Linked DNA regions of Homo sapiens: all the other regions are linked to region 7. The links are contacts of gene promoters, found by promoter capture Hi-C in human tissues and cell types (Jung and others, 2019). All regions are on one chromosome and are shown on one strand. The core of a region is centred on a gene start or on the middle of the fragment in contact, and the rest is flanking DNA. Distances in the headings are between cores, read along the strand shown. Region 1 overlaps PGM2L1 (phosphoglucomutase 2 like 1). Region 2 overlaps PPME1 (protein phosphatase methylesterase 1). Region 3 overlaps P4HA3 (prolyl 4-hydroxylase subunit alpha 3). Region 4 overlaps POLD3 (DNA polymerase delta 3, accessory subunit). Region 5 overlaps P4HA3 (prolyl 4-hydroxylase subunit alpha 3). Region 6 overlaps POLD3 (DNA polymerase delta 3, accessory subunit). Region 7 holds the start of KCNE3 (potassium voltage-gated channel subfamily E regulatory subunit 3).

The links. The method cuts DNA at HindIII sites, captures the fragments that hold promoters and counts their contacts. A contact is called where the count stands out against the background at its distance.
Region 1: a contact is called between a fragment that was not itself captured here and the fragment with the promoter of KCNE3 in region 7, in 2 of the 25 tissues and cell types used here (dorsolateral prefrontal cortex and liver).
Region 2: a fragment that was not itself captured here is called in contact with the fragment with the promoter of KCNE3 in region 7 in 2 of the 25 tissues and cell types used here (IMR-90 fibroblasts and aorta).
Region 3: a fragment that was not itself captured here is called in contact with the fragment with the promoter of KCNE3 in region 7 in 6 of the 25 tissues and cell types used here (IMR-90 fibroblasts, aorta, dorsolateral prefrontal cortex and 3 more).
Region 4: a fragment that was not itself captured here is called in contact with the fragment with the promoter of KCNE3 in region 7 in 1 of the 25 tissues and cell types used here (heart right ventricle).
Region 5: a fragment that was not itself captured here is called in contact with the fragment with the promoter of KCNE3 in region 7 in 3 of the 25 tissues and cell types used here (IMR-90 fibroblasts, dorsolateral prefrontal cortex and mesenchymal stem cells).
Region 6: a contact is called between a fragment that was not itself captured here and the fragment with the promoter of KCNE3 in region 7, in 3 of the 25 tissues and cell types used here (H1 embryonic stem cells, bladder and thymus).

The regions. Positions count from the first base shown.
Region 1 is chr11:74,331,833-74,334,983 of GRCh38, forward strand. PGM2L1 (phosphoglucomutase 2 like 1) reads right to left here. Exons shown (of 14, transcript NM_173582.6): 14 at 1-3,151. The region is part of intron 2 of LOC112268078 (a long non-coding RNA gene); the gene reads left to right. Among named protein-coding and RNA genes, the nearest start is that of P4HA3, 22 kb to the left of the region's middle. The HindIII fragment of the contact is 3,435 bases long and covers 1-2,968 here.
Region 2 is chr11:74,234,511-74,237,609 of GRCh38, forward strand. PPME1 (protein phosphatase methylesterase 1) reads left to right here. Exons shown (of 14, transcript NM_016147.3): 8 at 1,391-1,456. Among named protein-coding and RNA genes, the nearest start is that of PPME1, 65 kb to the left of the region's middle. The HindIII fragment of the contact is 5,319 bases long and covers 1-3,099 here.
Region 3 is chr11:74,270,406-74,273,747 of GRCh38, forward strand. It overlaps P4HA3 (prolyl 4-hydroxylase subunit alpha 3), which reads right to left. Exons shown (of 13, transcript NM_182904.5): 10 at 3,140-3,202. Among named protein-coding and RNA genes, the nearest start is that of P4HA3-AS1, 39 kb to the right of the region's middle. The HindIII fragment of the contact is 5,625 bases long and covers 1-3,342 here.
Region 4 is chr11:74,600,993-74,604,002 of GRCh38, forward strand. All of the region lies in intron 2 of POLD3 (DNA polymerase delta 3, accessory subunit), which reads left to right. Among named protein-coding and RNA genes, the nearest start is that of POLD3, 9.9 kb to the left of the region's middle. The HindIII fragment of the contact is 5,133 bases long and covers 1-3,010 here.
Region 5 is chr11:74,296,403-74,299,581 of GRCh38, forward strand. P4HA3 (prolyl 4-hydroxylase subunit alpha 3) reads right to left here. Exons shown (of 13, transcript NM_182904.5): 4 at 1,810-1,959. Among named protein-coding and RNA genes, the nearest start is that of P4HA3-AS1, 13 kb to the right of the region's middle. The HindIII fragment of the contact is 3,038 bases long and covers 1-2,819 here.
Region 6 is chr11:74,617,455-74,620,372 of GRCh38, forward strand. It overlaps POLD3 (DNA polymerase delta 3, accessory subunit), which reads left to right. Exons shown (of 12, transcript NM_006591.3): 6 at 1,083-1,350; 7 at 2,563-2,635. Among named protein-coding and RNA genes, the nearest start is that of POLD3, 26 kb to the left of the region's middle. The HindIII fragment of the contact is 4,717 bases long and covers 1-2,918 here.
Region 7 is chr11:74,466,260-74,469,353 of GRCh38, forward strand. It overlaps KCNE3 (potassium voltage-gated channel subfamily E regulatory subunit 3), which reads right to left and starts at 1,290. Exons shown (of 3, transcript NM_005472.5): 1 at 1,139-1,290. The HindIII fragment of the contact is 14,037 bases long and covers 1-3,094 here.

The DNA.
Region 1 (3,151 bases), core at 1-2,500, 130 kb before region 7:
CCTTCATCATGCCCCTCTGCTTTAGGGTTACGCTAGTGGAAAAATTTGAGCAGCAAACTCTAGGTATGTCACTTTGTCCCTATTTGGTCACTCTACACATTCTTATAGGTTCTCTTTTATAAGTACATAGTCTTGAATAAACAAAGAGGAAAGATGGTCTAATAAATATATAGTATGGTGAATACTTTAAGGTAACCAGTAGTCAACACTAACTTTGTTTCCAACTAGAATTAAATTCATGCTGTGCAAGGAGTCAGACAATGAGCAATTCTCATCTTACTATTTATACCTCTATGGCTTAGGGTAAGATGCTCTGAGGGACAAATGTGAATAAGATTTCCTTAGATCTTGTGCTTTGGCTCCCCAAGTACAAGGAAACCTGAAATAGAATGTTATGTCAATTGCCCATTCATTTTGGTTAGTACGACTCTTTCCTCATCAGTTTCTAGAACAATCTCAGATGACAAGTGAATTGTAAAAGGCCGTAATAAATTAACATATAGCAGTATGCAGACAGATCAAAACAGGTTATGAAATAGATTTAAAATTACTTCCTACAATAAGTCTTAAATATAATGACAACATTAACAAAATAACCAAAGGTCCATAGGCAAATGTAGTTTATGACTAAGCTTAAAGCATTCTGAATGAATACAGTTGAGATTTCTTATCAGTGAGGTAACAGGGCAATAGTCCTTCACAGTAACAAAATGTGCAAGGGTGCCTAGGAAAAGTGGGAGGTAGAGAGAAAAAGGCATAAAATTAAATGTATCCAAGTGAAGTTTGGATTTTTCAAGCATCACAAATATCAATGGAAAATGTGGAAAAAAGTACTGATAGCAGCAGCTCATAGAACAACTTATCCATTAAACTACAGCTAATATCCCTGTTGCATCAATTCCAGAAGCAACTTGCTTAAGAAATGGGAGGTCTATTTCCTATATAAAGACATTCCAAAGTATCCAATCTCTTAGAACCTCTCCATCTGCTAACGTATCTACATCAAAATAACAACATATATATTCAAAACGAAAACCTCAAATAACCTAAGCCACTATACATTCTTCAAGATGAACAAAATTTTGTTCAAGTCTCACTTAATTTGCCAGGTTAAATTAAAAATAACAGTGAAGCAGGAAAATTATTCATTGCACTTATGCATCAGTTACTCAAAACACACAAAAATTGTTTTGTGAGCTAAATTCTTCTAGATATGGAGTGAAACCCAAATGTTACTTTTAGTGCCCTTTATGACATTTTTGTTCTAACCTGAGTTTTTAAAAAAAATGTGCTGGAAAGAAGGACCCTTAAAAAGTCATCTGTATATCTCTTAATTTTTAAAATTTTTATTCCCTTAAAAATAAAAAAAAGATTTTGAATAGAAGATATTATGAAGATTTCTCAAGAAGTTCCTAAATCTTAAACTTTCCATGCTGTCTTTAAAAAAAAGATCCTTATTCCCTCTGGTTCTGTCTTCACTAGAGATGGAGAACACTATGGCATAGTATTTCTTACTTTGAACCCTTCAATAAAAGACTCAATAAAGCTTTATTAGCAAACTTAGCAAACTATCTCAACAGCTTTCTCCTCTCCAGAGTCAAACAATCTTTATTCCTTGAACTTTTTCTCAGAAGTCTTATTTTCTAATCTACATTTTCTTCCTTTTTATTTCTGCTCTACCTCTTCCTGAGTTCTCACATGATTCTGATACAACATCCTAGCAGGAACTGAATCCGTAAAAGGGATACTTTTTCTCACCTCCTAAACCTTGGCCTCATTTTAGTGATCACAATAAAGGAAAATGGTAGGTGCATACTCATCATAACAACAAATAAACACAAGTAAACAGGTGGGACACAGTTTATTCCCTACTGTTATGGTGTTACATTTGCCCTTCACGAGAAGCATTTCCCGTGTCTCTTTATATTGTTTGCTTATTTCTACTGTTTATTTCCAATGTATGCTTTGATCTTGCCCTACTAATTCTCTCCTTTTCTCCAAAGCTTTAGAAAATTCCAGTTTTGACTTTCATGCTCAATGAGAATGCAATCATTTTCACAATATTGTTCAAAAAGAAAAAGATAAACATTGTAGTGCCCGAGGCTGAGACCTCCTAGCCAGCACTTCTGTCTCTCCTGACCAGCTTGGGCTATCACTGAATTTATCCTGTTAGGCAAATGTGCACCTACTACATCAAGTTCATGTTAAGTATCATGCTCAGACAGACTCATGACAGGCTAGAATAAAATAATTCCCTCAATCGATACACTTCAGGAACATTTGTAAAATTTTGTTAACTTGAGAGAAGAACACTTCAATAACTTTTCACCTTAAGATGACTTAAATGTTGCATTATATTAAAGCACTCAAATAAAACTGTTTTCTTCATAATAGAATGACAGTCATGACATGGCTTTAGTAACTATGAATGAGCCGTTGATTCATTTTAGCTTCATTTTTGTTTATCAGTCACTGAAACACAGAACTAAACCAAATATACCTGTTTTTCATATATACAACATTATACCACTTTGCAGAATATATGCCATTTCCTAAATTACAATCTACATTCTTAAAAGCATATAAAACAAAAGATGTTTTACACATTTTAAAAATAAAACAAAAATTCTACACATATCTTCTCCAGTGCAAAGCCTTTGAAAACAAACTCATTGAGAAAAATGGTGCTCTACATTTAGCTAGCTGTCTATTATCTACAGTCATACAGTCATATAAGATCCAACAATAAGAAAGTAAGGAAGGAACAAATTAACAATAGTGGCAATACAATAGTTGGACAATTAGGTTTGGATTATATGAGCTCAACCAAATGTTAGCTGACAGCTGCAACAAACGAAACCATGATTTAAGGAACATTCTAATCAGTTCAAACTTTATATTATTATTTTATATGAAATAAATTCTCTAATTACAGTGCTATCTCCCATAAGCAATTTGTTTAGGTCTTGTTATTGTTATCTCCTAACTATACCCCATATGTATTCTGAGAACTATGTAGGACAAGATACATTTTAAGAAGATTAAACACAGCATTTCTTTTTCTCTCTCTCTCTCTTTTTTTTTTTTTTTTTGAGATAAGGTCTCACTCTGTCATCCAGGCTTCAGTGCGGCAGTGTGATCATAGTTCTGT
Region 2 (3,099 bases), core at 229-2,728, 230 kb before region 7:
GTATATTAAGTGTTTGTAGAAGGAGGGAGAGAATAACTGTGTCGGATGCTGCAGAGAGATCAAGTAAGATGAGGACCAAGAAATGACCATTGGAATTGGCATGATAGAGGTGACCTTGACAAAATAAATATCTGAAAATAAATGGGATATAAAAATCATATATAAGTTGGGGAAAGGATGAGAGGTGACAAAGTAGAGAAAGCAAGATAACTCTTTTGAGGAGCTTTGCTGTATAGGAGAGCAGAGAAATGGAGTAATAGGTAGTAGTGAATGTGGCATTGGGAATGTTTTTAAAGGCTGGATAATGGAGTATGCTTGTGACATCCACGAGAGAAAAAAAGTGACACAGAAGAGAGACAGGATAACTGAAAGAAAGAGTATCTTTTCAGAAGCAAGAGGGGATGGGAACTAGTGCCCAAGGTTGGCCTTGATAGGAATAGATATTTCATGTATTAAACAGGCATCAAGGCAGAGTATATTATTACAAGTATTGGTGAATTTGTGGATTCATTTGGTAGTTAAAAGATGAGGTAATAGTTCTGATTGCCTCGGTTTACCATTAAAGTAAGAAATCATGTCATTATCTGAGGAGAGGGGCTTTAAAATTTTGAATGATTTTTTAAACTAAGAAATGAGATTTAAAGAAGTGCTTTCTCCTAGTGGCTTGCTTCAGGCAGTGTTTCCAGTTCACCCTGGGAATGCAGTCATTTTGCTCTGCCTTAGTTGTACTTAGGTGGACAAATGTGAGAAGACTAATTTATTCAGATAGCCTAAGCCCTGTAGCACGGCACACAAGGCCCTGGAGAAGCTGGCGCCTGCCTTCCAATCCTATTCTGTCACGCTCCCCTTTTATCTCCTCCCTGCTTCTCCTTGCACCCAGTTCTCTAAAATCATTATCCTGCCGACTTTCACATCACAGCACCTTTGTACATAATGTGCCCTCTGCCTAGAATGCTCTAACCAACCTCTTTTATTTTCTGGTTAAACTTGTTATCTATACTCCTCAGTTTAGCTGTGACCTCTGGGGAGCTTTCTCTGACCTCCTCATTCATGTTCAAGTGCTTTCTTTGAACCTTGCCTCATTATATTAACATTATATGTGTCTTTTTCTCCCTACCGAATTATGTGCTTTTTGAATACAGGCCTGGCACCTAGTATCCTCTTGATAAATATCTGCAGAACTGAAATGGCTATGATGTTTTTACTTAATTTTTACTTATAAAACCATGTAGCCAGGTGAGTAATAGTGGCAATCTCTATAGTAAGAAACACTGGTGATCACTACTTTTTATTAGGTCTCACATAATCTGTAGAATTATTTATTTGATTCCAATGATGTGATACAATAGATACTGAATAACCTTCTCTCTTCCTTTCTTTTCTTTCCCAGTGTGAAGAGTGGCCAGATTCGAAATCTGGAGTCTGCCCGTGTCTCAATGGTTGGCCAAGTCAAACAGTAGGTCTTACTCTTCCCCCTTGGTCTGGTTAGAGGCGGAAACATGGTGAGGGAATTACAGATTGCTTCTTTTGTCTTACACCAATTCTACCATTCCGGTAAATGCCTTTATTATTTTAAATAATTTTAAAGGTGAGTTCAGTTGGGACAGACATAGATTTTCTTTCGCCTGCCTTCCTTTCTCTCCTTCCTTTCCTTCCCTTTCTTTTTTTTCCTCCTCATTTAATACTGGATTACCTTAGCAAAACTCTGCGTGTTAAAAAGCAAATCCCAGAGCATAGACATTACAAATTATGTTAACCTTAGTGATAGCAGCTGAGTTTCATTCTAGTAACAGTCTCCTTCTAAGCCAAACCTGGCTGTGAGGGAATTATAATAAAAAAGCTCTGGCATAGCCTGAGTGAAAGCCAGATTCTAAGAGTGAGCTAAGATTATTTAGCCCAATTGATCTTTCCTGATAGAATTACATGGCATTCTGGGTATTGCTGTATAGTCACAAAATAAACTTTAGATGAATTGAGAAAATGTTGCCCAACAGAACAGACAGAAGTTAGATGAAAATGATAATGGCTTTGAGTGCTTACTATTTGCCAGGCACTGTGCAAGGTATTTTATATGCACTGTCTCATTTTTAAAACCTTATATTATGGAAAAATTTTGCACATATAAAAGAAGAGTGATACAGTGGATGGACCCCAGTGTTCCCATTGTCCATTTTCAATGGTTATTAACCCATAACCATGTCTCATTTGTTTCATCTGTGCCCCTATGTATTTCCCCTAGTCACAAAATATTTTGAAGCAAATTCCAAACAAATATAATTTCCTCTGCAAGATTTTCATATGATCTAAAAATAAGGGCTCTTTAAACATCATCACGATGACATTATTACACGTAAAAAAATTGGCAATTCTTTAATATCATCAAATATCTAATCAATATTTACATTTCTGATTGTCTCATAAATAATTTTTTACAATTAAAGTCAAAATCAAAATAAGTAGATAGCAATTGGTTGATCCACCTCTCATGCATCTTTTAATCTAAGGTTCCACTTCTGTCTCCCTCTTTTTTTTGATTCCTTGCAATTTATTTCTTGAGGAAACCTTGTTTGCCCCATAGAATTTCCCATGATCTGGATTTGCTGATTGAATTCTCAGGCCATAATTTAACATATTCCTTTGTTCCTTATATTCTGTGTAAATAGTTAAATCTAGAAGCTTCATCGGGTTCAGGTGTTTTGTTTGCAAGAATACTTGATAGGTGATGTTGCGTACTGCCATCAGGAAGTACATAATGTCTGGTTGTCTTTTTTTTTTTTTTTTTTGAGACAGAGTCTCACTCTGTCGCCCAGGCTGGAGTGCAGTGGCGCGATCTCAGCTCACTGCAACCTCTGCCTCCCAGGTTCAAGCAATTCTCCTGCCTCAGCCTCCTGAGTAGCTGGGACTACAGGCATGTGCCACCATGCCCGGCTAATTTTTTATATTTTTAGTAGAGGTGGGGTTTCACTGTGTTAGCCAGGATGGTCTCTATCTCCTGACCTCATGATCCGCCCACCTCGGCCTCTCAAAGTGCTGGGATTACAGACGTGAGCCACCATGCCCAGCCAATTGTCTCTTTTTTTTTAATGTCAGGAGCCGTTG
Region 3 (3,342 bases), core at 698-3,197, 200 kb before region 7:
TTTTCTTAATGTGAAGCTTTTTTTCTGGTTGTCACAGAAATATATAATAATTGTAAACTGTTTTAAAACAGGAAAATATTTTTAAATAACAATAATTATCATTGTACCATCCAGAAAAAAGTTATAGTTTACATAGTGATAGTTGACATTTATTGGGCACTGACTATATGCTAAAAGTTACACTATGTCCTTGCAAATATATTATCTCATTTATTCCTCAGAACAATCCTAGGAGTTACAATCGTTATTATTTTTAACTCTTCACATTTTACAGATAAAGAAACCAAGTCTCAGAGAGCTTAAGCACTTTATAAAAGGTCACATGGCTCTTCCATGATGGAGTCAGGATTTGAGCTGAGCTGGTGCCATGTGACTACAAAGTCCCTGCTCATAACCATCATGCTACACATTTGGAAATTTAGGTCATATCCAAATGTTTACTATTATAAACAACACTGCACTGAACAACTTAATGAAAAAAAATCATTTTGCATTTTGGATTGTTTTCATAGGAAAGAGTCTTGGCACTAGTATTATGGGGTCAAAAGGACATGCATAAGTTTCATACTTCTTATACATTTTGCTAAATTATTTTTTCAGCAGTTGCATCACACAAGAGTGCCAGTTTTACCTCACGCTGCCTAGCATTATCTACCAGAAGGTTCATGCTCTGTAATCTTATGGCAGTCAGATCCCGGTACATTTACTTGTGTTACAGAGCAAGAGGTATAGGAGGTAGGACGCTGGCCCTTGGTAGATGCAAGTGAACTGACATGGTGATTTGGAACCTGGAAATGGCAGTGGTGACTATTAGCATTCCTTGGCTCTCCCTGTAGCACACTGGGAAAGCCGATGAGAACAACAATTGGCTCCTTGTGTTCAGGTAACAAATTAGATTATTCTATTCTAGCCCTTGTCAGTAAGGGGCAACCTGGACTTTCCTGCATTCTTTTACCTGTGGTTTTACAATATGGTGGAAAGGAATGACATAGCCAACACATTAAAAAGAAAATCGGATTCTGCATGCAATGAAGCTCATGAGCACGGCATGGGCTGTAAGAACAGTGGGAAAGGGAGAGAAATCTTCCGTCTGTATACCTTCTACTATTTTGTACTGGGGCTGATCTTTTTTTTTTAATAGAGACAGGGTCTCACTATGTTACCCAGGCTGGACTCGAACTGCTGGGCTCAAGCGATCTTCTTGCTTGAGCCTGCCAAGTAGCGGGGACTACAGGTGCACACCACCGCACCCAGATTGGGACTGATCTTATGTCCAATCTGAGCAGAAAATCACCAACTGGACTTCAACTCAATCCTCTGTACTTCTTAAAGATTATTTTCTCCCTATAAAATCAGTCTTAGGTTTCCCACAAACCTTAACATTTGTCTTGAGAAATGTTTGTCTTGAAATTGTCTCGAGAAATCCCAACCTGAAGATGAAAGACTTGGGCATAATCTAGCACTTCCCTGGTCCCATGATACTGATTCCCCTTTATGATACCCTTTCCTTTAATTGCTCTGTGGGATACAATGACAGAAACATACAGTATGGAACTTTCCAGAGTGACATCCCTCCTTACATTATCTCATCAGACCCTCACAACAACACTGTGAGGAAGCACAGGGCAAAAAGTGAGCTCACATAATAGATGTAATCTGTGCTGAGGCCACATAGTAAGTGGCAAAATCAGGATTAGGTCAACTGACTCCAAATCCAAAGTGTATTCCATTCCACTCTGTCTCAAATACTTAAAACCCAAATGCACATGCATGCACACACATGTGAAAGTGCATGAGAGTGCATGCACACACATACACACACACACACACACACACATGCATTTGCCATTTAAAATTACTGGGCTCTTATACCCACGCTACCTTCGCTATAGTAACTGGGGCCCTGTAACCAGGGAACCAGCCATAGGAGATATTGAGGGGATAAAGAACAGAGATATATTGTGCCCTAGATGCCCTGTTTTTTGGCAGCAGTTCATTCTTTCGCCGTTTGTGACCTCCCATAACAGCTGGAGTGGTCAACCAGAGATGCAACCAACTGCAGCTCCAAGATGTGTCCCCTGCCTGATAGCTGACCTCAGAATGATCAGAATGAGGCCAGACACCATTGTAAGTGGAAGCCTTCCAGTTCCATAGGAAGTACAGAACTGAGCCACATAGAGAAACACACTGGAATTGCTGGCATTAAAGACTACACAGAATGCTGGCCTCTGACTGCCCTTTCTTGGCTGTCCTGTGGAGACCAGAGACAGTCCTAATAGAAGAGGAAAAGCTGGGGTGAGGGATGTCTGCTATTCTAATGAGGCTGAAACAAGGACTTCATCTTTGGTTGTTATATAGAACCCTTATATATGTTTGTCCCTTCAGTTAACAGTAAGGTATCTCTTCTAATAAGTGATTAATTCTAATATTCTCTTCCAGTGACAGGTGATTGGAAGCTTGTCCATAGAGACGAAAGTAAACCCACATGATCTGAAGGGAAGGGGACAGGTGAGATGATACAGACTGGGGCCGAATCCTGATCAGGCCAGGAATTAGGAGAGAAGTACAATTTATTGGTTTATCTTGAAAGGGGAGTCATGGAGATTTTACTGAAGATTTTATAGAGAGATAAGGAAGAGAATTTTCACTAAACATCAGAGGCAGCACTTGCTGAATTTCTCTCAGTGTCTCTGTTCTTCCCTCTTGTAAATCTGCTGCCTCATTCCTCATCCATCTCCCTCCCCACAGCCCCACAACCTCATCTATGGGTTGTTTTTCAACACTGATTAGTCCATGAGACCTCAAGGACACAGATTCTCAGATCCTCCTCCTGTGTTGTTCAAGTCCCTCTATCTCTTGGCCTTCAGTGGAGCTCCACTTCCCATCCTAATCCACTGCCCATACCAAGGTCATATTTAGATTTACACACTGTCAGCCTCTTTCAGGGTAGAAACCTTGTCTTGTATTTCTTTACATCTCCTACAGTGCCTATCAAAAATGCTGTCTGAAATTCGCAAAATTCCTGGAGATTTTTGCGCTGAGTACCAGATAAAATCAATACGTGAAATTGCTTTGAAAACAATAAAATAAAGTAGAGCTATAGTCAGTCATGAAGTAAGAAGCCCAGAGCAATACTCACATAGATCATAAATGTTGCAACTCGGTTTCCTGACTTCATTCTGTAGAGGGGGCTGCTTGGTGACTGAGAAAAAAAAAAACAGAACATATTATTTTATGCAGATGGCACCAGAGGGACAGGCAGGATTCCACTATTAATACAAATAGAAGTAAAATGGGGGCATCAAAGATGGGATATAGTTCTGATATACACCTACTGGAGTA
Region 4 (3,010 bases), core at 307-2,806, 140 kb after region 7:
ACAGGTGTGAGCCACCGCACCCAGCCACAAGAATTGTTTTTTAAAATAAGAGTTTGCTTTGCATTTTCTGTTAATATAAGAGAGAAGAACTGGGGTCAATTTGGGGAGACAAGTGCATAGAGGACAATGACTGATGATATGGGCAGGACTATTAGTTGTGGATAAAAGATAGTGCATTTGGCCAGCAAGCTTGCAAGCATTTTGGGCATGGTACCTGCCTATCATGTCTTCCTTTAGCATGGTCCAAACTAGCATCAATAAACCAAAATGTTTGTGGATCTGTTAGCTCATTTATCCTTCTAACACAATTGTTGTAATGGAAAGAAACATTAGAGGGCAAAGAGGAGGAATCAGCAAAAATCCTGACTAGGGCACCTTTTTGTACTCAAGGTGTTAACAGTCTAGAGGGGATGCGTCATATGTAAAATAAATAGTTAGAAGGCAGGGTGATATGTGCTGTAATAATAGATATGGGATAAAATTTGTTAGAGCTTGGATGGCAGAAGCTCATTGTCTAGGCATGATGGCTCACTCCTGTAATCCTAGCATTTTGAGAGGCCAAGGCAGGAGGATCACTTGAGCGCAGGGGTTCGAGGTCAGGCTGGGAGATATAACAAAAGCCTGTTTCTACCAGGAAGAAAAAATAATAACCAGGCATGGTAGCATGCACCTGTGGTCCTGTTTACTTAGGAGGCTGAGGAAGGAGGATGGCTTGAGCCCAGGAATTCAAGGTTATAGAGAGCTGCGCCACTGCACTTCAGCCTGGGCGACAGAGTGAGACTCTATCTCTTAAAAAAAAGATGTGCCCTGGTGACCTGATGGTGTTGGGGAAGGGTTCATACTTCATAGAGGAGGTGACAACTGAGCTGCTGTCTTGATGAGAAATTAGGTAGTTGAGGCCTGAGAAGAGCCTTCTAGGCAGAAGGAAGGGCATATACAAAGGAATAAAGAGAATTGTAGAATGTTTCATTAAGGATGAAGATAGTGTAGGTATGATGGGGAATGGTCAGAGATACAGAGCCCAGAACAAGAAGGGTCTTACCTGTCATTGCTAGAGATTTGAAGTTGATCCTTAGGGGATGAGAAGCTACTGAAAGCTTTGTTACACTTTTTTTTTTCTCCTCCCTTTTTGTGGAACATGGGGTCTCGCTATATTGCCCAGTCAGGTCTTGAACTCCTGTGCTCAAGCTATCCTCCTGCTTCTGCCTCCCTGAGAGCTGGGATTACAGGCGTGAGCCACCACACCTGGCGCTACTGAAAGCTTTATAACAAGGAATTATGTTTCAGACAAGACTCTCTAGCAACCTTTTCAACATCAACAGTGACTAATAGGCATTGCAAATTTAATATGCCCCCAAACCTAACTCCTGACTTCTCCCCTCAACACCTGCTTTTCCTGCTTTTCCCCCATCTCAGTGAATTACAGCTTCCTTCTTTGGGTTGCCTAGTCCAGTCATTTTTGACTCTTCTTTCTCTTACACTTCAACACAGTATATCAGCAAATCCTGTTGTTTCTCACTTTAAAATATACCCAGAATTCATCCACTAATTACTACCTGCACTGCTACTGCCCCAAACTGAGCTACCAGTCATCTCTAGGCTGGGTTATTGCAATAGCCTAACTGGTCTTGCTTCCTCCCTTGCCCCTCTACAGTATATCATCCACATAACCTTCTCAGATCCTTCTGAAAGGTGAGATCACATTACCTCTGCTCTCAACTTTCTAATGGCTTCTTAAAGTCCTGTGGTAGCCACAAAGCCCTATGTGCCTGGCACTCTGCCCTCTCTCCCCTACTACCGTCCTTATTCCACTACAGCACACTGGCCTTTCTGTTCCTTGGATCTTGCTGACCTTCCTGCCTCAGAACCTTGGTATTTGCTGGACTCTCTGCCTAGAACATTGTTTCCCAAGATATCCACCTTGCTGGCTCCCTCCCTCCCTGCAGGGCTCTGCTAATGAGGCCTTCCCTAATCACCTTATATAAAATAGCAAAACTTCTCAGGCACCCTCTGTCCTCCTTAACTTACTTAACTTTGTTTCCATAGACTTACTGTCATCTGAGATTATATATTATATGTTTATTGTGTGTCTCCTTTCTAGAATGTAAGCTCTAAGAGTGGACTTTGCTTTATTCACTGTTCTGTCCCTAAGGCGTAGAACATAAAGTAACCACTTGGTAAAGTTTTGTTGATTGAATGACTTGATTTGCATTTTTTAAACTTCACTCTGGCAGCATCATGGATAATGAAGGTGAGGTGGGGAGGAGAAGAGGAATTGATACTTGGAATTGAAATAGTCTAGTCAAGAGATTTGGAGGGCATGGAGTCAAGAATTACTTGGGAAGGAGAGCTGATGAGACTTGGCAACTCATTGGATAGGAAGAAGTGAAGTATAATGACTCCCAGATTTCTGGCTTGCGTGGTTTCAGCAGATGATGTTGTTGTCAGAGATGGATGAAATAAACCGAGGAAAATATGTAGTAGGGTGACTAGCCACCCTGGGTTTGCCCAGGATGGTTGGTTTTGTCACTGAAAGTTCCACATCCCAAGAAACCCCTCAGACCCAGGCAGACAGGAATGGTCAGTCACTCTAATACATAGAGTGAAAAAATAGCTAAAGACAGAATACCAACAGTTAAGGAAAGGGAGGAGGTAGAGAAGTCTCTTCAGAAAGTAAAGCAGAAGCAGTGAGAGGGGTAGCAGAAGACTCAGTGGGGCATGGTTTTATGGAAGCTGAGAGAGCAGGCTCTTCAAGAAGAGAGTGAACAGCAATGTAGGTTGAGCTTCTCTGGGGATTTTTAAATTTCTAGCTATGCTTGGCAGAAGTATATTATAGACAGATTGTAAATGTTTCTCAAAATAAAAGACATGTCTCTTTGTTGTTTTTAAACTAGATTATTGAAGGGAGCCAACTTCTGATACTTGCTGGATCATAGAGTAAAAATGAATTTAGAGATTTTACTAAAAGCAACATTATTTCTGCATTTAGTATTTGGCTATCTCAGGTTAA
Region 5 (3,179 bases), core at 51-2,550, 170 kb before region 7:
TTTTATGTGATAATGAAAGGTCCACAGGGACATTTACTTCTAATTTACTAGGGGGTGAGGAGGAACACAAACCATCTATAAGATAATGCCTTATGTGTTCTGTTACTGGGGAATAAAAACATGCTGTAAGACCACCAAGGAGGAAAGCCTGGGGAGTGAGGAGAACTCAGGAAGACTTCACAAAGTAGGTGACATTCGAGGTGTGCCTTGTAACATAAACAGGATTTCACCAGACAAAACAGGATGTGGAAAGCAAGTAGAAGAGAAATCCAAGCCATCAGAGTTAGAGGGAAACAAAACAAAACTAATCAATAATTGGGTACAACATTTGAAACTCCGTCTTTCAGGGTAAGCTGCTTTAGTTTCTCTTCTCTGAGTCTTTCCATGTCGAATCTCCATTTCCTTCCTCTATTAAAACTCAATTACTTCTCACCCCTTCCTACATCACAGTTACTCTGTTTGGCTTTAACACACAGCAATTTAGCAGGAGAGTTAGGAAGAGCACATACACAGTTTTTTTTTTCTTTTTTTCTTTTTTTTTTTTTTTTGAGATGCAGTTTCACTTGTTTCCCAGGCTGGAGGGCAATAGCTCGATCTCTGCTCACCACAACTTCCACCTCTCGGGCTCAAGCGATTCTCCTGCCTCAGCCTCCTGAGTAGCTGGGATTACAGGCATGTGCCACCACACCCGGTTAATTTTGTTTGTTTTTGTTTTTGTTTTGTTTGTTTTTAGTAGAGATGGGGTTTCTCCATGTTGGTCAGGCTGGTCTTGAACTCCTGACCTCAGGTGATCTGCCCGGCTCAGCCTCCCAAAGTGCTGGGATTACAGGCGTGAGCCACCACATCCGGCCAACACATACACAGTTTTACAACAAAGATCCATTCGCCAGGAACTTCCATGAAAGGAACAGGACTGTTTGCTGCACTGAGAGTAAATCTGTTTGGGCAGCAACACATGGGTTTGGAGCACCCACATCCTCCTCCCCTTTCTCAAGAAAATGGGGAAAGGAAAAAAAAGGTAGGGAGCAGAAATGGTTTACTAGTTTTGGAAACTCTAGGGAACTGGTTCCATGGAGATTTTTGCAGCCTACCCTTGAAGACTGTACAACTCGGGTGGGAAATGGGGTTAGCTATACAAAAGCTATACCTTACCCAGTTATTGGTTAGTTTTGTTTATTGGCAGCTGCTTTATTTAGGGAAATGAACTTCTATATAAGGCACAACAGGGAGTAAGTAGATCAACAGTGCCAAGGAAAAATAACACCTGGAGGAGGCACTGTGGCTGGTACTACAGAACAGTGACTCCAGCTCTGTAACCAGACAGGAGTCACATTACAGTTGGACTCAACTGCAGATGGGAAAAGCTCATAATCAAACTTCTTTGTCCATGGCAATATTATGGGTAATATCTGTGATGAATTATGAGTTGCTGAGAGCACAAAAGAGTGATCTACATTTATTATGAACCCATTAACTATTTGTGAATAAAGCAGCTGCTGCTACAGGTGACAAACTGCCTCCTACATGGGAAATAATGATTGTAAAGTAGTCAATGCATTGGAAAGAGCACTGGACTAACAGTCTAATCCTAGGTCTATAAGCTTTGTGACAAGTTAATAGTCTTTTGGAGATTCAGTTTACTCACATGTGATATATGGAAATGATAAAATAACTTCCCTGCTTGGCTCAGTTTGGTCCTATTGGGAAGATGAAACAGATGAAGACATGAAAATACTTAGAAATTGTAAAGCAGCTATAAAGGATTTCACTTAGTATAATAAAAGCAGTGAGCTTCACTTACTCCCTTACCCGGAAATAAGCAAAGGCCAAGTGATCCAAGGCATCTTCTAGACTTGCCTCATCCTCTGTCTTCCACTCTCCGTAAGATCCTCGGAAGAGACTGACAGCCTCCTCCAGCCATGGAATGGCATGGTAATAATCCCCCATGTCATAGGCCACCTACACAGAACACAAGTACCATCGCCAAAGCCTTATTCCACAGGTAGAAAAAGAAAATGACAATTCAAAGAATAAGAGGGACTTTGGAATCCAAGAAGGCAGGTTTTAATTTCAAATTCATTTTAATTCAATTTATTAAGCATCTACTATATACAACGCATTGTACTACGTGGAGAGGAGACATAAGGGTTCTTGCACTTAAGGAATTTATAATCTGAAGGAAAAGAGAACATGACCTCAATTAACTCTAATTTGGGACAGAATATCATGAGTGCTCCAAAGAAAATGTATACTATGCTGTGGTGGCACAGGGAAGGGAGGAGACTTGGGAATCTCAGAAAGCTTCATGCAAGAGGTAGCATCTGAGACAGGCCTTCCTTGAAGAAGGAAAAGGATATCAGTGAGCAGAGACTGGGAAGAAAAGCATTTTAAGATGAGGGAATGGCAGCAACAGAAATCTAAAGCAAGAATGTGTTCAAGTAGTCCATCGTGGCTGTAGCTAGGGTGAAGAGAAACAAAAAGTAAACTTGAAACAGCAGCATGGGCTAAGCAAATTACAGTCTTGAATGTCATATTTTTAGGAAGATATTGCTGGTAGCAATGTGAAGAATGGATTACATTCATTCATTCATTCATTTATTCAATATTTACTAAGTATTTTCTATGTGCCTAGTGGCCCTGTCCTGTAAGAGCTTAAATCAAGACGGGGCACATGAGTAAGCCAATAATTGTAACACAATGCATTAGACACCATAATGAAGGTAGACATGGGAACGCTATGGAAGCTCAATGGATCTGTTCTGTATTAAATGCTGGAATGCTGGCAACATGGCAACACGTACCAGACACAGCTCCTGTCTCCTCATAGTTTACAGTTAACTAGAATACCAGAACTGCAAGTGGAATTTCCTGGAAGTTGATATTGGAGACAACATGGAACTGTAAAGTTACAGACTAGGAAGAACTCTTACAAAATGATCTAATTAGGGTGTAACTTCCTGACAGGGAAAAATCCTAGAGATATTGCAATTCTGCAGCCTAAACAATAAATCATTTTTCCTTCAAGTCTGCCATTAACCTGTTGTTTTATTTTTCTGCACCTCAAGTCCTATTTGTAAAAACGTTGAGCTGAAAAATGCTAAAAATGACTGAACTTTTCATGCCAAGTTAATTTGTTTAATTAAGATTTCCATGAGTAACTTCAAGTCCCAGCAATATGG
Region 6 (2,918 bases), core at 155-2,654, 150 kb after region 7:
GCAGTAGTGTGATCTTGGCTCACTGCAACCTCTGCCTCCTGGGTTCAAGCAATTCTCTTGCCTCAGCCTCCTGAGTAGCTGGGACTACAGGCGCGTGCCACCACGCCCAGCTAATTTTTGTATTTTCAGTAGAGACGGGGTTTCACCATGTTGGCCAGGCTGGTCTTGAACTCCTGACCTCATGATCCACCTGCCTTGGCCTCCCAAAGTGCTGGGATTACAGGCGTGAGCCACTGCACCTGGCCTCTTCTTTGTTTTAAAGCATGATTTATTTATTTATTTTGAGACAGCATCTCACTCTGTTCCTAGGCTGGAGTTGAGTGATGAGCTCATGGCTCACTGCAGCCTTGACCTCCTGGATTCAGGTGATCCTCCTACCTCAGCCTCCTGAGTAATCAGGGCTATAGGCATGCGCCACTACACCCAACTAATTTTTGTATTTTTTGTAGAGACAAGGTTTCACCATGTTGCCCAGGCCCATCTTAAATTCCTAGGCTTAAGCGATCCGCCCGCCTCAGGTTCCCAAACCGCTGGGATTACAAGCGTGAGCCAATGCGCCCAACCCTACAGCATGATTTACTCTGGCCAAGAGAGTTGCCAGGAAATTTGTTAATATTTAAAGCTTAGTTTTGATTCAGTCAATATTGCAAATCTAGCCCTATCAGAGGAAGGTCTTTAAAAACAAAGGCTATTTCATTTCCCAAGGATAATGAAATTACTGCATCTTTTATTATTGTTGGTTGCATTCCTACTCTTTTGAATTAGAATACTTTTATCAAAAACAAGAATATTCAATTAGTGGTAGAAGGCACCTAATTCCAATCCTATCTATTACTAACTAGATGTATAACCTAGTAAAAGTGACTCACTTCTCTCTAATATTTGTTTCTTTATGTAATAGAGAGTTTCATACATTTTTCTAAAGTCGATTCTAAACAATATTAGAGTTAAGTATTGTGTGGAAGAAGCAAGAGTTTGAAAATAAAGTTTTATACTGACATTAGTTTTTTTTTTCTTTTTTTGTTGAACCACCCAAGAATGCATATGCTGACATTAACTTAATGTAACATTTCTGTCCCCAGATTTAGTGCTATACAATGTGCAGCTGCCGTCCCTAGAGCTCCTGCTGAATCCTCTTCGTCTTCCAAAAAGTTTGAGCAGTCACATCTTCACATGTCAAGTGAGACACAAGCCAACAATGAGCTGACCACCAATGGTCATGGCCCACCTGCATCCAAGCAGGTTTCCCAGCAGCCCAAAGGAATTATGGGAATGTTTGCCTCCAAAGCTGCTGCTAAAACCCAAGAAACCAACAAGGAAACGAAAACAGAGGCTAAAGAAGTAACAAATGTAAGTCTTCTTTGAAGATACCCCTTCATTGCAGCTCAGAGTGGGTAACTAGAAAAGCATTAATGGTTGCAGTGGTAGTAGTTTATTTATATAAGATTCTGATATTCAGTTCTGATTTTTCTACTTTAGTTTGAACCCTTTAATACTTGATATTGTTATCTGAAAGAGTTCTTTTGCTTTTGATAATGATTCTCACCAAACCTTGGATTTCCTTTGCAAAATGGTAATGCCTACCTTGTGCACATTACAAGATTGTTGTGAAACCCAGATGAAAACATGTGAAAACACCTCGAGAATTGTTGACATTCAAAAAAATGTTTATTTGCAATATGTCTTTCTGAGGAACATCTTATATTCTGGGCTTTGCAACATATACCTTCCTTCCTAGTGTATTTCCCATTCTTATACTTTATGCAGGTTTTTTTGTTTTGTTTTTGCCTTATTTGCTTCTCTTAGATTTTTATTGTTCAGTCATCTGAACTAACTCAAGGGCATTGACTTAAGAAAAGTATCATTAAGATACTATTTTAAAAATCCAGAAAAGCATAATTATTGTTGTTACTATTATTATTATCACTGTCATTTTCCAGTGTCAAGTGTATTTAATTCAGATCACTGTCATTTTCAAGCGTCTGTCTTGGGAAAGAAGAAGGATGGAGGAAAACACTAACGTTTATTGAATTTCAACTGTGTGCCAGTGTCTTTGTTTAAATCCTCTTATCAGTTCTGTGAGGGAGATATTAACTATTTCCCTTTCGCATATGGTAAAACTGAAACCTAGACTTAAGTAATTTGCCTGGAGCCCATATTGCTACTAAATGGTGGGAACCAGGAATTCAGATCTACTTCTGATGATTAAAAATGTAATGTTTTAGGTTTTCCCGCTTTGTGTACATACTGCCTCTGATCTTTTTTAATTCTGTCAAATTAAATAGTTTTTAAATGTGCTCAAGAAAAGTTTAGCTATATCCATGGATAATTAATTTTATAAGATATATAAGAAACTAAGCTTTAGAGATTAACACCAGTTACTGTCTGGTGTGGATTATTGTTCTAGATTTGTTCTTATATCTAACACCTACGCGTTTTGGCATGATTATATAGAGACTATACCATCGCAACAGTTTGCTATAGAAGAGTTTGTTTGAGACTGCTACTTCATGAACAGCCTAAATGCCAGCAAAAAATCATATGTGTTTTCTGTGCTTGTAGGCATCTGCAGCAGGCAACAAGGCACCAGGGAAAGGGAATATGATGAGCAACTTTTTTGGAAAAGCTGCTATGAGTAAGCATGTTCTTACCTCACTTTGACTAACGAATGAATGTTAATGTAATGACATATTATACCTGAAGTGAAAGCCACTTTGTCTAGTTTTTGCCAATCCAAGAGACTACCTGCATTCTAACAAATTTCCAGTGTACTGCCCAATATATTGATGAAAGTAACTCAGCTAGAACTTTATGGGTGAGTTAGGCTCAGTTGAGATCTCTTTGAGAGCAGTTTATTATTCCTGGTTTAACTTCCTGCCTTGAAAAGATAATGAACTATTTGCTTCATAGGGCCCTTG
Region 7 (3,094 bases), core at 40-2,539:
CTTAGAAGGTATTTTGAGCACTCGCACATTAAGTTTATGGATGTGCTTTGAGACGTATAGACTGAGTGAGGGATGGAGAAGGTGATGGTTATCATCTCAAGGAGTCAAGAAAATCTGAAAGCAGCTTCTAGGCCCCCAGCATGGGTCTTCCTCCATCAGGAACAGACAAAGTGGACGGATGCAAGGAAATAAGGAGGAGCTCACACGTTTACAACATGCCTTTGTAGGTGAAGTGGAGAGAGCCCTGGGCTAGGACTGAGGAAACTTGGGTTCTAATTCTGTTTGGTCTCTGTTGTAACCTTAGGTAAATCATCTCCCCTGGGGCATCAGTTTCCCTATATGCAAATTAGTGGAGAGGATTTTAGGAGGGATACTCTGGTGGGCTTTCACGCAAGAACTAAACTCATTTATTTTCGAGATAAGAGACTCTGAGGTCCAATCCCCCTTTCCCCTTCTGTCCCATGGGGTATGCAGGCAACAGGAGCAGGAGGCCCGTTTTACAAATGGTGGCCCAGGAAAAGCGAGCACAAGGCGCAGAGCTGAGGGATGACTGCCCGGGTTTACACAGCCTGTAAACTAGAACTCAAGTCTCCCGACTCCCAGCCTCGACCTATGTTACTGGCAGCAGAAGATGCTTTTGGGAGTCACCAGGTTTCCCGGGACTAGGTCAGACAGGGTGAAGGACACAGTGAGGTGTAGAGGGAATGGGCAAGTCAGCTCCGCAGAGCCGGTGGCTCCAGCCAAATGAGACTGTGCTGGGTCCTGAAATGTCGTTTCTGCGTGTGCACTGGCTGCCAGCTGCAAGTGTTCGCTTGCACGTCTGTGGGTGTGGAGGAACTTTTCTTGTGGCCGTCTTGAGGGCTGGGAATAACGGCGCAAGTCCCCACGGTTTCCAGACGGGGCGCGCAGAGCCCAGCTCCCTACTCCCACATGCTGCTCCACGATCACTGCGCTCGGGAGGATCGGGGAGGATCCGGGAGGACTAGCTTGGTATTTGCAGCGCCCACCCCTCCCCCACTCCCCCTCGGTTCCACAGTCTCACGGAGAGCGCGCCGTGGCCCTTGGAAGGGAGGCGGGAAGACCCCTCATTTCCACCCCAGGCCGCAGCTCAGCCTTCCCAGCTGGGTGGGTGCCTTACCTGCCTCTCAGCAAGGCTCCGGGGCGCCCGTTTGCTCGCTGGACACGGCGCCCTCTGACCGAGGGTGGCCCAAGCGCTGCGACCCTGTGCATTCCACCAGCCCCGTTCCACTCCGCGGGTGCCCAGCACCGCCCAGCGCGCTCTCTGGCTCTGGGCTCCCACCCGCGCTCGGCTCCCTTTTCCCTCCCCCGGGCGTCCCCTCCCCCTGCCCCGCCCGGGCCCCAGCACACCCACTTCTCCCCGGGCTGGCCTGGAGTGCCTCCGCCCAGCTCCTTGGCCTCCCCCGGCTGTGGGCTCCGACCCTTCCGTCCCCTGCAGCGCCTGCTTCCTGGACCAGAGACCGAAAGCCTCTCGCTCCGCTGGGCCTCAGCAAGCCCAGCATGAGGCCGATCTCCAGGAGTCGGTTTTGCTCCAGTGTGGCTGTGTGGTGGTGGGCGAGTCGCTGCCCCTCACTGGGCCTTGGCCTGGCTGTAAAGTTGGTACAGTTCCTCCATGCATTCTTCACAGGCTTATGGTTGAGGTCAGATGAGACCTTTGAGTCCAAAGTATTAAAACCAAAGGGTCAACAGCAAAATAATATGATTCTTACACAAACTCTTTTCCACACAGGACGCAGAGGCCCAGTTGGAGAAGGGATTTGCCCAGGTAGCAGAGCCCAGACCCAAAATCCACTACACACCCCTCTGTCTCTGAGTAGCACCAGCAAATGTTTCCTCCACCAAGCCTCAAAAGTTCGTGACAGTGCCTGACCAACTTGTGTTCAGCCGCACCTTACTCATCTCTGTCCCAGAACAGTTTATTTTCCCACCACCATGCCCTCACTCAAACTGTTGTTTCCTTGCTGGTGACATTGCAGGCTTCAGAGAACTGGGGCAGCCGGGGCAGCTGAGGAATAAGAGCCAGGAGGCTAGTGGCAGAGGAAGGGACAGTTGCAGAGAATTTCTCCGGGGGACCCTGTGGGGTGCCCTTTTACCAGCTCACTGCCTCAGAATAATTAATAACAGCCTCAGGCCAGCTCTTTCACTCCCTTGCAAAGGTCTGCTCCAGGATATCTGAAGCACATACTCTCAATTACAGAATCCCAGAATATATCTAAGAAGTGCTATCGTTTTAAAAAGACCTACTACAAGGTGGGTATATTGTATATTGTATACAATATACAAGGTGGGTATATTGTACCCACCTTGTTTTGACCCTACTATTCCTTTTTCTCAGTCTGGAGATCACCTCTCAGAAAAGTCATCCTAATCACCTAAGCATGCAATCTCAGTTTCCTTCCTTCCTTCCTTTCTTTCTTCCTTCCTTCCTTCCTTCCTTCCTTCCTTCCTTCCTTTAGACAGGATCTCACTGTGTCACCCAGGCTGGAGTGCAGTGGAGTGATTATGGCTCACAGCAGCCTTGAACTCCTGGGCTCAGGTGATCCTCCTCCCTTAACCTCCTGAGTAACTGGGACACACCACTATGTCTGGCTAATTTTTGTATTTTATAGAAATTGGGTTACTCCATGTTGCCCAGGCTGATCTCGAACTCCTGGGCTCAAGTGACCTGCACACCTCCACCTCCCAAAGTTCTGGGATTACAGGCATGAACCACTGTGCCCATCCTGCAACCTCAGTTTTCAATCTGCCTAAGAATCCCCTGGGGAGCTTGTTTTACTAAGTAGACTTTTGGGCTCCACTCCAGAGGTTCTAATTCAGGAAATCTGGAGTAGAGCCTAGAAATCAGCATTTTCAAACAAGATTTCCAAATGACTCTGATGCAAATGGTTCTTGAGACTAGCCATGAGGAAGCAGTCCTGGCTTGGTCAGGGTTCTTTCTCAGATCCTGCCCACGGCCTTGCATTTACTCTGTAGGACTGTCTATGACAGTTATAGAAAGTAACCATTTGTCCACCCCATCTGCTAGGTTGTGAGTTCTTTGAAGATAGGGATTGTCTTTTGTTCTAATAAAATCTTA